Linked DNA regions of Homo sapiens: regions 2 and 3 are each linked to region 1. The links are contacts of gene promoters, found by promoter capture Hi-C in blood cells and fetal thymus (Javierre and others, 2016). All regions are on one chromosome and are shown on one strand. The core of a region is centred on a gene start or on the middle of the fragment in contact, and the rest is flanking DNA. Distances in the headings are between cores, read along the strand shown.

Region 1 (3,976 bases), core at 1,080-3,579:
GGCAAAGGAGTTAAAGGCTGCAGGGTCCTAACCAGGGAGGCCAGCTCTGTGACCCCAGAGCTGGCACTGGGTGACCCCACATCTGGGGTTGATTACAGTGTAGAAACTAAGGGTGGTTCTGAGAAAGCCCATCTTCCCTTTCGGAGAAACCGCGATGCCATAGGGCGGACCCCGCCTCCCTGTCCCCGCGCCCTGGGCTGCACTCCCTAGGGCCCCGGACTGCATTTTCCCAGGAGGGCAGCCTGGATAGGGAACCTCGGCAAGTGAGACCAAACTGATGTTCCCTTAGGGGCAGCACCCGCTCGGTGCTCTGAGATTGTTGTATGGGCTATTTAATTCCTAAGATGATTCTCAGCAGGAGGCAGGCTCTGTATCATCCCAGCGGCTTTTTCACCTTGGGAGTTTCGCGCTTTCCGATTCCATGAAGTTGCTGCTTGTCACCCCGTCACCGGCTATAAGGATTTAGCTCACAACCACATTTTTACTGAGGGATTGTCATTTAACGAGTTTCCCTCTCCCAGGGAATCTGCATTCTAAGACCCCAAAGGCCGGCGAGGGTCGTTGTGCTGGGCTGGACAGCAGAGAGAGGCTCGGCCTTGGCCCTCAGCCCTGCAGCACACAGGGCACCCGCGCAGAGAGCGTGGCCTGCGAATGGCTCTGCTGCCTCTCCCGGCCTGGGGCCGATTAGACCGGTCAGAGCATCTGTAAAGTACAAGGGGCCCCTAGGGAGTGCAGGCCAGGGCAGCTGGGGCAGGGAGGCGGGGTCCGCCCCATGGCATCGCGGTTTCTCTGGAAGGGGTGATGGGCTTTCTCAGAACCACCTTTAGTTTCTGTACCGTAATCGGCCAAAAAGGCGCAGGCGCTGCTGCTCCTGGCAGCTGCGTAACAGGCTCTCAGAGGAGGACGCGGTTCCGGGCTGCGGCGGGCGTGGTCCGGGGCTGTTCTGGGCGTGGTCTTTGGCTGTGATGGGCGTGGCCTTGGGCTATGGAGGGCGTGGTCCCAGGGCTGCGATGATGGTGGTCCGGGGCTGTGGTGGGCGTGGCCCCGGGCTGCGGCGGGCGTGGTCCCCGGGCTGCGGCGGACGTGGTCAGGGGCGGTTCTGGGCGTGGTCCCTGGGCTGCGGTGGACGTGGTCTCGGGCTGTGACGAGCATGGTCCCTGGGCAGCAGTGGACGTGGTCTCACACCCAGAGTCTGAAATTTCTGCCTCTTCCTGGCCCTAAAAATATCCTGCCTGTTCCCACGCGGCTCCTGCCTTCTGGAGCAGTCTGCCAGGCCGGCGGTGGGTGTTGGGCAGGGGTCTCAGGCTGCCAGCAGCCAAGTGCAGCCCGTTCTGCAGTGATGACAGGGATCTGTGGGCAGAGGGGACCGAGCCTCGGAGGATGCTGTAGGTGGGAGAGCTAACATTGACTCAGCATTTACTTCAGGCTATGCACTGTGCTGAGTCCCTTACCTCTGGGCTTCCGCAACGTTTCCCTGAGGTCAGTGTGGTTGGCATTCGTGTTTCACAGATAAGGAAACTGGAACAAAGCTTTTCAAGGCCACGCAGCCAACACCTCGAGAGAGCGGGAGAGCTTGTTCACTTGAACTGGATCCCCAAACACCAACAGCCACCCTGGCCACTGGCTCTGACTGAGCTCACCCCACCCCCGACAAGCCAGGTGCCTGGGGAACCTGCCTTCCATTCCTCCCCACTAGCTCCTATGAGGTCTCTGCCTGCCAGGCCTCCTCCTCCCCAGAGGAAGGGACGTTTCTACCACACAGCGACCCCACAAGTCAGCTGAGATTTTGGGGGCACCGAATACTCACATGGAGCCCTGAGTGGAAGGGGTGTAGGAGTCACACTCACACGCATGCACAGGGTCACCCTGAGCTGGAGACCATACCCAAGGCTCTGTGAGGAAATGTGAGTGCGCCCAGGCCCCTCCAGCCTGGTCCAATTTGCTGAGCCTCTAGCTCGACAGAGGTCAGACCAGGTCTACAGCCCAGCGATCCTAGTTCCAGACAGCTGCTCCTTCCTTTCTAGGAGGGCAGCCCGGAATATAATCCAGTGTGGTGAGAATCCATTGCACACTCCCTGTGAGCCAAGCAGACAGGTTTGGGGGCCACTGAGATAGGGGACACTTCTGGAGGGGTCAGTGACTGCAAAATGGTGGCAGTGGGATGATCTGTTATGTCTACCCACGCACATGCAGCTGCACAGTTGCAGAGATGTGAATGCAGGAAGCCAGGTGTGAGTCTGAATTCACATTGGTTTTTTTATCTTTATTAAGCAGTCATTCCTAAGGCCTGCCCGAGCCTGGCATCTCTACAGAGGAGTGGTGCCATCAGGACCCCTGTGGGGCAGATCAACACTCAAGGCAGGTGCAGAATCAACAACCTGTGACAAAGCCAGCCATCCCTGCCAGGAAGCATGGGGGATGAGCTGGCACCTTGCCCTGTGGGCACTACAGCTTGGCCGGCCCTGATCCAGCTCATCAGCAAGACACCCTGCATGCCCCAAGCAGCCAGCAACACTTCCTTGGGCCTGGGGGACCTCAGGGTGCCCAGCTCCATGCTGTACTGGCTTTTCCTTCCCTCAAGCCTGCTGGCTGCAGCCACACTGGCTGTCAGCCCCCTGCTGCTGGTGACCATCCTGCGGAACCAACGGCTGCGACAGGAGCCCCACTACCTGCTCCCGGCTAACATCCTGCTCTCAGACCTGGCCTACATTCTCCTCCACATGCTCATCTCCTCCAGCAGCCTGGGTGGCTGGGAGCTGGGCCGCATGGCCTGTGGCATTCTCACTGATGCTGTCTTCGCCGCCTGCACCAGCACCATCCTGTCCTTCACCGCCATTGTGCTGCACACCTACCTGGCAGTCATCCATCCACTGCGCTACCTCTCCTTCATGTCCCATGGGGCTGCCTGGAAGGCAGTGGCCCTCATCTGGCTGGTGGCCTGCTGCTTCCCCACATTCCTTATTTGGCTCAGCAAGTGGCAGGATGCCCAGCTGGAGGAGCAAGGAGCTTCATACATCCTACCACCAAGCATGGGCACCCAGCCGGGATGTGGCCTCCTGGTCATTGTTACCTACACCTCCATTCTGTGCGTTCTGTTCCTCTGCACAGCTCTCATTGCCAACTGTTTCTGGAGGATCTATGCAGAGGCCAAGACTTCAGGCATCTGGGGGCAGGGCTATTCCCGGGCCAGGGGCACCCTGCTGATCCACTCAGTGCTGATCACATTGTACGTGAGCACAGGGGTGGTGTTCTCCCTGGACATGGTGCTGACCAGGTACCACCACATTGACTCTGGGACTCACACATGGCTCCTGGCAGCTAACAGTGAGGTACTCATGATGCTTCCCCGTGCCATGCTCACATACCTGTACCTGCTCCGCTACCGGCAGCTGTTGGGCATGGTCCGGGGCCACCTCCCATCCAGGAGGCACCAGGCCATCTTTACCATTTCCTAGAGTTCTTGAGTCCACAGTCTGGCAAGCTGAGGTTAAAAATCATATGTTGAATGCAGCAGTGTCCACTTATGACTAACTTCTTAGAACAGCACAATATAATAGTGGAATTGGGCCTTTCAGAAGACCTCAACTGATGATTTTCACCATTTTGACAGTTTTTAAGTAGAGAAAGCTCTCTTATGACACTGAAATCCTACTTGGAAACGGAAGCAAGTAAAGGCAATCAAGCAGGGCTCTGGTCTAAGTCAAGCCTTGATCTGCGTCCCTCCAATGGCTTGCTGCACACCCTCCCTGGCCACTGTGGATGCATCCTTGCTGACCAACACACAGAAGCCAAAATGTTGCTGACAGTGAGAACCACAGAGGTAAGCAAGCAGAGCTGCTGAGTCCTGGGACCATGAGCTCTATCTGAGCAGCCGCTCAGGATGTGGGAGGGAGGAAAGGAAGCCAACGATCCACAGCAGTGGAGAGTGTCATGGAGATACCACTATAAAGCTGGAGTGTGCAAGGGTTACACTCTC
Region 2 (3,722 bases), core at 539-3,038, 180 kb after region 1:
TCTCTACTAAACGTACAAAAAATTAGCCAGGCGTGGTGGCATGCACCTATAGTCCCAGCTACTCGGGAGGCTGAGGCAGGAGAATTGCTTGAAACTGGGAGGGCGGAGGTTGCAGTGAGCCGAGATCACACCACTGCACTCCAGCCTGGGAGACAAAGCAAGACTCTGTCTCAAAAAAAAAAAAAAATTTACATACTGGCTTTCGTGTGAGTATAATTTTTCCATTCACTTTGGTAAGTATCTAAAAGTGGATTTGCTTGGTCATATGTTTAGTTTTATGATAAACTTCCTATCCATGAGCATGGAATGTTTTTCCATTTGTTTGTGTCATCTCTGATTTTTTTCAGCAGTATTTTGTAATTCTCACTGTAGAGATCTTTTGGCTCCCAGGTTAGCTGTATTCCTAGATATTATATTCTTTTTGTGGTGTTTTGAAAGGGATCACATTATTGACTTGACTCTCAGTTTAGACATTGTCAGTGTATAGAAATGCTACTGGTTTTTCTACATTGATTTTGCATCCTGAAACTTTGCTGAAGTTGTTTATCAGTTCTAAGAGCCTTTGGGCAGAGACTGTGGGATTTTTCTAGGCATAAGAACCATGTCTTCTGGCCAGGCGTGGTGGCTCACGCCTGTAATCCCAGCACTTTGGGAGGCCGAGGCGGGTGGATCACGAGGTCAGGAGTTCAAGACCAGCCTGGCCAACATAGTGAAACCTTGTCTCTACTAGAAATATGAAAAATTAGCTGGGCATGGTGGCGGGAGCCTGTCATCCCAGCTACTTGGGAGGCTGAGGCAGGAGAATCACTTGAACCCGGGAGGTGGACGTTGGAGTGAGCTGAGATTGCGCCATTGCACTCCAGCCCAGGCGACAGTGCGAGCTCCATCTAAAAAAATAGTAATAATAAAATTTAAAAAAAAAAGTTTTACTCTTTAAAAGGCCTTGGTAATAAAATGAAAAGGCAAGCCACAGACTGGAAGAAACTGTTTGGAAAACATATATCTGACAAAAGACTTATATATAAGGTATACAAAGAATCCTTACAACTCAATAGTAAGAACACAATCCAGTTTTTAAACATGGGCAAAAGACTTGAAGACACGTCACCAGAAAAGATGTACAGATGGAAAAAACATGAGAAGATGCTCAACATCATATGCCCTGAGGGAAACACAAATCCAGATTGCAAGGAGATACCGCTTCACAGACACTGGGAGGATTAACATGAACAAGGCTGGTGGTACCAGGTGCTGGGGAGGTTGTGGAGCAGCAGGACCTCATACATTGTGGGGAGTGAGGAAGGGAATGGAGAGCAGGTTCTTGAGCAGTTGAACGCATGCCCCTACCCTGTGTATCTGATACAGCGTCATCCCACTCCTCGGTATTTATCCAGGACAAATGAAAGCACATGTCCATATAAAGACCTGTACATGGATGTTCACTGCAGCTTTATGTGAGAAGCCGGAAACTGGGAACAACCCAAATGTCCATCAGCAGGTGAATAGATAACAAATTGCCTTATAGCTGCACTGTGGAACACGGGTCAGCAATAGAAGGAATGAATTCCTGTCACATGCAACAAAACATGGGTGCATTTCAAAATAATCATGCTAAGTGGGAAAGACCAGATAAAAAGAAGACATACCGCATGGTTCCATTTATATGAAATTCTAGAAAAGGCAAAAAGCAGATAAAGGTTGCCTGGGGAAGGAGAGGGTGTTGAGGGAGGAGTGAGGAGAGGCAGAAGGGAAAGAGATCAACGGTCATCATATTGATGGTGGTCATGGTTTCACAGATGTGTGTCAAAACTTTGACTGTACACTTGAAATATGTGTGGCTTTTTTATGACAATTATACATCAATAAAGTTGTAAAAAAAAAAAGTAAATAGCAGTAATACAAAGAAAATAAAACAAAGACCCTTGCATTTGGCAGTGTCACAGGCGCCTCTGCTGGCTGATTCAGGGCTGGGCGGGGTGGCAGCCAGACCCTGGGAGCAGTGTCCAGAACTTCTGATTCCAGAATCACGGCCCACTACACATTTCCCGAAAAGCTCCTCATAACAAAAGCTAAACCTAGAAGTAAAACATATCATCCTAAACAATCTTTAGTTGAGTTCACACACACAAAAGAAATTCCCAGGACAAAAAAAGAAGGAAGAGTTCAAAAAGTATGGAATTCAGTGGGAGGTAGAACCCCAGAGAGAGCAGTGATCACAGAAACACTCATGAGCCACACGCTGGTTAAAAGTGACTGAAAGCAGGGCCTGTCTGGGGGTGGGGTTAGGGGAGGGATAGCATTAGGAGAAATACCTAATGTAGGTGACGGGTTGATGGGTGCAGCAAACCACCATGGTACGTAATTACCTATGTAACAAACCTGCACATTCTGCACATGTACCCCAGAACTTAAGGTATAATAATAAAAAAAAGTGCCTGAAAGATTCAATTTGGAAAGTCCAGCTATATGTTGGTTATGAAAAGCACACCTAAAGAACATTGAAAGATTGAAAATAAAAGGATGGAAAAAATACATGGTTGGCAAATACTAACCAAAAGAATGCTGGTGTGGGTATATTAATATCAGAGGATGGCCTTTAAAGGAAAAGTCTTTCTTAGGGATAAGAAAGTAAAAAAGCCTTTATTACCACTGGTAATAAAGGAGCCACTCATAGGAAGATGTAACAGTTCTGAACTTGTTTATGCACCTGCTCACATAAGGCTGAACTGTAACAGAATTAAAAGAGGAAACTGACAAATCCACTAGGACAGTGGGAGGTTTCCACATGCTTCTCCTAATCACAGAGGAAAAACTAGTAAGACTTCCGAGGATTTAAACAGTCAACAAGGCTGATCTAATGAGCCCTTGTTAACACTGCACCGACCCATTAGAGAATGCACTATCCTTTCAAACGCCCATGGGACATCTCCAAAGTAGGACCTTGTACTATGTCATAAAGCCAGTTTCAACTAACTTCAAAAAATCAGTATCACACAGATGACTCTTTGATGACAGTGTCATTAAATAGAAATCAGAAACAGATAACTAACACATACTTCTAATAAGTCACAGGTCAAAAAGGAAATTATAATGAGCTTATTTTAAAAATTAGGATTGCCAAGATAATGGACATACCACAGATTAAAACTAGTGGTTTTTAGAAGGGACACTGTGTCCTCACATACTAATATTCTCTAAAAAGTGAATGACACATAGGAAAGTGTGCATATTAAATGTAAACTGTGTTATTGAGGAGTTTGCAGAGGGCAGAGGAGAGGTGGGGAGAGGCTAGCTCCACTGAAGGTTTCGGCCAACGTCGGGGCAGCGGGCAGGGAAGCGGTGAGGTCAGGAGGAGGAGGTGGGATGTGGGGCCTGCCGGTCAACACCATCCTCCCCTCCTGATGGGCTGGTAGTCAGCAGTTCACCCTGCTGTGGAACACTCACTGCAGCTGTTTCTTACAGGAGACAGGCTCAGCATCTTGCCCTAAAGCCTCATCTAGTTATAGAATAAGACAGTTGGGAAGTGCCAGGCCTGTGGCAAAATGGAGCCTGCCTGCTTCAGACTTTCAAATTTAACCCACTCCCACCCCTGTAAAAACCCTGAGCCTCCGCAGAAAGAATACTTGTTTGGTCTAGATTCCAGCCCCAGGCCATTCCCAGGACATAACCCTGGACTTACATCACTTTATGCTGAGAAATTATTTGGGGATCGCTCCTGAATC
Region 3 (3,673 bases), core at 794-3,293, 200 kb after region 1:
TTTCCCTTTATAAATAGCAATATTTAATATCAAGTGTTTGTGAAGTACACATCTCTGAGTCTCACCTCATCCTTGAAGACTCACTTTTTAAAACTGAGGTGAAATTCACATAATGTAGAATTAACCATGTTAAAGTGAAGAATTCATTGGCATTTAGTATATTCATTCACTATATTTTGCGACCACCACCTCTGTCCAGCTCCAAGGCATTTTCATCACCCCTAAAGGAAACCCTATTCCCCATTTCCCCTCCCCAGACCCTGGAAATACTCATCTGCTTCCTGTCTCTATGGGTCTTCCTATTCTGGATTTTTCATATAAATGTAATTACATGATACGTGACCTTTTGTGACTGGCGTTTTTCACTTAGCGTCGTGTTTTATCCATGTCATAGCACATATCAATACTTCATTTCTTTGTATGGCTAAGTAACATTTCGTTATGTGATTATACAGTACTTGTCTCACTTTGTTCATCCATACATCCATTCCTGAGTAGCTCTTCATCCATTTCTGAGTAGCTGGGATTACAGGTGCCTGCCACCATGCCCACCTAATTTTTGTATTTTTAGTAAAGATGGAGTTTCACCATGTTGGCCAGGCTGGTCTCGAACTCCTGGCCTCAAGTGATCCACTGGCCTTGGCCTCCCAAAGTGCTGGGATTACAGGCATGAGCCACCGCGCCTGGCCTGGAATCCTTTACATATTCTGAATGTAAGACCATTATAAGATATGTCATTTGCAAATATTTTCTCCCATCTGTAGAGTGCCTTTCACTTTTTTGATAGTACCCATTGATGCATAAGTACTTAATTTTGATGAAATCTACTTTATCTATTTTTTTTTGTTGCTTGTGCATTTGATGTCATACCTAAGAATCTATTGCCAAATCCAAGTAATGAAATTTACCTCTGTTTTTTTCTAAGAGTTTTATACCTTTCGCTTTTAAATTTAGGTCTTTGATCCATTTTGATTTAATTTTTGTATGGTATGAGATAGAGGTCCAATTTTAATATTTTCCATGCGGATATGTAGTTACCCAAACACCATGTGTTGAAGAGACTATTCTGTCCCTTACTGAATGGTCTTGGCATCCTTGTCAAAAACCAACTTACCCGCCAGGCGCAATGGCTCACATCTGTAATCCCAGCACTTGGGGAAGCCGAGGCGGTGGATCACTTAAGGCCAGAAGTTCGACGTCAGCCTGGACAACATGGTGAAACCCTGTTTCTACTAAAAATACAAAAATTAGCCAGTGTGGTAGCACGCACCTGTACTCCCAGCTACTCGGGAGGTTGAGGTGGGAGAATCACTTGAACCTGGGAGGCAGAGGTCACAGTGAGCCAAGACTGCACCACTGCACTCCAGCCTGGGTGACAGAGTGAGACCCTGTCTCAAAAAAAAAAAAAAAAGTCAAATTACCTTAGATGTGTGGGTGTATTTTTGACTCTCAATTCTATCCTATTAACTTATATGTCTGTCTTTATGTCAGTACCACATTGTTTTGATTATCATAGTTTTATAATAAGTTTTGAAATTGGAATGTGAGAGTCTTCTTTGTTCTTTTTCAAAATTGTTTTGGCTTTTTGTTGGACCTTGCAATTTCATATGAATCTTATAATTTCCAATTCTGCAAAAAAATAAAGGCCCTTGGGATTTCCATAGGATTGCATTCGATCTGTAGATCACTTGGGAGAGTAGTGCCATATTAATAATATTAAGTCTTCAAATCCATGAACACTGGGTGTCTTTCCGTTTTTGGGAGGTGTTCTTGAATTGCTTTCAGCAGTGTTTTGTAGTTTTCACTGTAAAAAGTCTTGCACATCCTTGGTTAAAATGTTTCCTAAGTATTTTGTTCTTTTTGATGACATCATAAATGGAAATTTTTAAAAGCTTCATTTTGGGATTATCCATTGCTAGAGCATAAAAATACAATTGATTTTTGTTTATTGATCCTATATCCTGAAACGTTGCTGAATTCATTTATTAGCTATAATAATATTTTTGTGGATTCTTTGGAAATTTCTATGTATAAGATTACATCATTTATAAAAATAGATTACTTTACTTCTTCCATTCCAGTTTAGATGCCTTTGATTTCTCTTTTATCCCTTACTTGCTCTGGGTAGAACTTACATAACAATGTTGAGCAGAAGTGGTGAAATGGGGTGTCGTTGTCTTCTTGGTTTTAGGATTAAAGCTTTCAGTCTTTCACTATTGTGTATGATGTTAGCTGTGTGTTTTTCACAAATGCCGTTTTATCATGTTAAGGAAGTTCGTTTCTATTTCTAGTGTTTTTATCATGAAAGGGTGCTGGATTTTTTAAGTGCATGATCAATTTTGATGACGGTTTTTCTGCATCAACTGAGATAATCATGCATGTTTTCTTTGACCTATTAATGTGGTATATTACATTGAATATGTATTCATCTGCAGTTTTCTTTTCTTGTGATGTTTTTCTCTGGCTTTGGTATCAGAGTGATTCTGGTCTTATAGAATGAGTTAGGAAGTGCTCTCTCCTCTTCTATTTTTTGAAAGCATTTGAGAAAGATTCTTCTTTAAATATCTTGTATAGTTCACCAGTGAAGCTTTCTGGTCCTGGGCTTTTCTTTGTTGTGGGGTTTCTGATTACTGATTCAATTCTTTTTTCTTTTCTTTTAGTGTCAGGTTGGTGAAAAAACAATTCTTTACTTGTCATAGACCTGTTAAGAGTTTATATTTCTTCTTGTTTTGTTTTGTTTTGAGATGGAGTCTCACTCTGTTACCCAGGCTAGAGTGCAGCAGCATGATCTTGACTCACTGCAACCTCCACCTCCTGGGTTCAGGTGATTCTCCTGCTTCAGCCTCCTGAGTACCTGGGACTCCAGGCATGCACTGCCATGCATGGTTAATTTTTGTATTTTTTGATAGAGACAGGGTTTCACCATGTTGGCCAGGCTGGTCTCGAACTCTTGACTTCAAGTGATCTGCCCGCCTCAGCCTCCCAAAGTGCTGGGATAACAGGCATGAGCCACTGTACCCGGCCAAAGTTTGTATTTCTTATTGAGTCATTTGGCTTGTGTTTTTCTTAAGAATTTCTCCATTTTATCTACATTATCTAATCTGTTGATATACAATTGTCCATAGTGTTTTCTTATAATCCTTTTAAATTTCTGTAACATCAGTAGTAATGCCTCCACTCTCATTTCTAATTTTAGTAATTTGTATTTTCTCTCTTTTTTTCCTCAGTGTAGCTAAATGCTTATCAATTTTATTAGTCTTTTCATAGAATCTGTTTTTGGTTGTCTTGATTTTCTCTATTATTTTTCTTATTTTTATCCCATTTTTAATTTTTTATCTATTTATTCATTTATTTATTTATTTAGAGACTGAGTTATGGGACTGGTATTTGGTATTTTTGGTAGAAACAGGGTTTCACCATGTTGCCCAGGCTGGTCTCCAACTCCTGGGCTCAAGTGGTTTGCCCACCTCAGCCTCCCAAAGTGCTGGGATTACAGGCATGAGCCACTGCACCTGGCCTCTATTGTTTTTCTATTACTATATTTAATGTGTCTCTACTTTCATCTTTATTATTTTCTTCCATCTATTAGCTTTGGGGTTAGTTTGTGCTTCTTTTTCTTGTTAAATTAGACTAAAAATGTAAAATTGGACTATTGATTTGAGAAATTCTTTTT

Evidence for each region. The method cuts DNA at HindIII sites, captures the fragments that hold promoters and counts their contacts. A CHiCAGO score of 5 or more calls a contact.
Region 2: a fragment that was not itself captured here is called in contact with the fragment with the promoter of GPR148 in region 1 in 1 of 17 cell types (naive CD4 T cells); the score reaches 6.1 in naive CD4 T cells.
Region 3: a fragment that was not itself captured here is called in contact with the fragment with the promoter of GPR148 in region 1 in 4 of 17 cell types (non-activated CD4 T cells, total CD8 T cells, naive CD8 T cells and 1 more); the score reaches 5.7 in non-activated CD4 T cells.

Annotation. Positions count from the first base shown.
Region 1 is chr2:130,726,741-130,730,716 of GRCh38, forward strand. GPR148 (G protein-coupled receptor 148) reads left to right here and starts at 2,330. Exons shown (of 1, transcript NM_207364.2): 1 at 2,330-3,596. The coding sequence starts at 2,412. The coding sequence ends at 3,455. RefSeq lists enhancers at 52-579, 901-1,480, 1,481-2,059 and a silencer at 963-1,132. The HindIII fragment of the contact is 6,760 bases long and covers 1,528-3,976 here.
Region 2 is chr2:130,907,785-130,911,506 of GRCh38, forward strand. The region is part of intron 1 of ARHGEF4 (Rho guanine nucleotide exchange factor 4); the gene reads left to right. Among named protein-coding and RNA genes, the nearest start is that of ARHGEF4-AS1, 73 kb to the left of the region's middle. The HindIII fragment of the contact is 6,101 bases long and covers 1-3,722 here.
Region 3 is chr2:130,931,820-130,935,492 of GRCh38, forward strand. The region is part of intron 3 of ARHGEF4 (Rho guanine nucleotide exchange factor 4); the gene reads left to right. Among named protein-coding and RNA genes, the nearest start is that of ARHGEF4-AS1, 97 kb to the left of the region's middle. The HindIII fragment of the contact is 307 bases long and covers 1,891-2,197 here.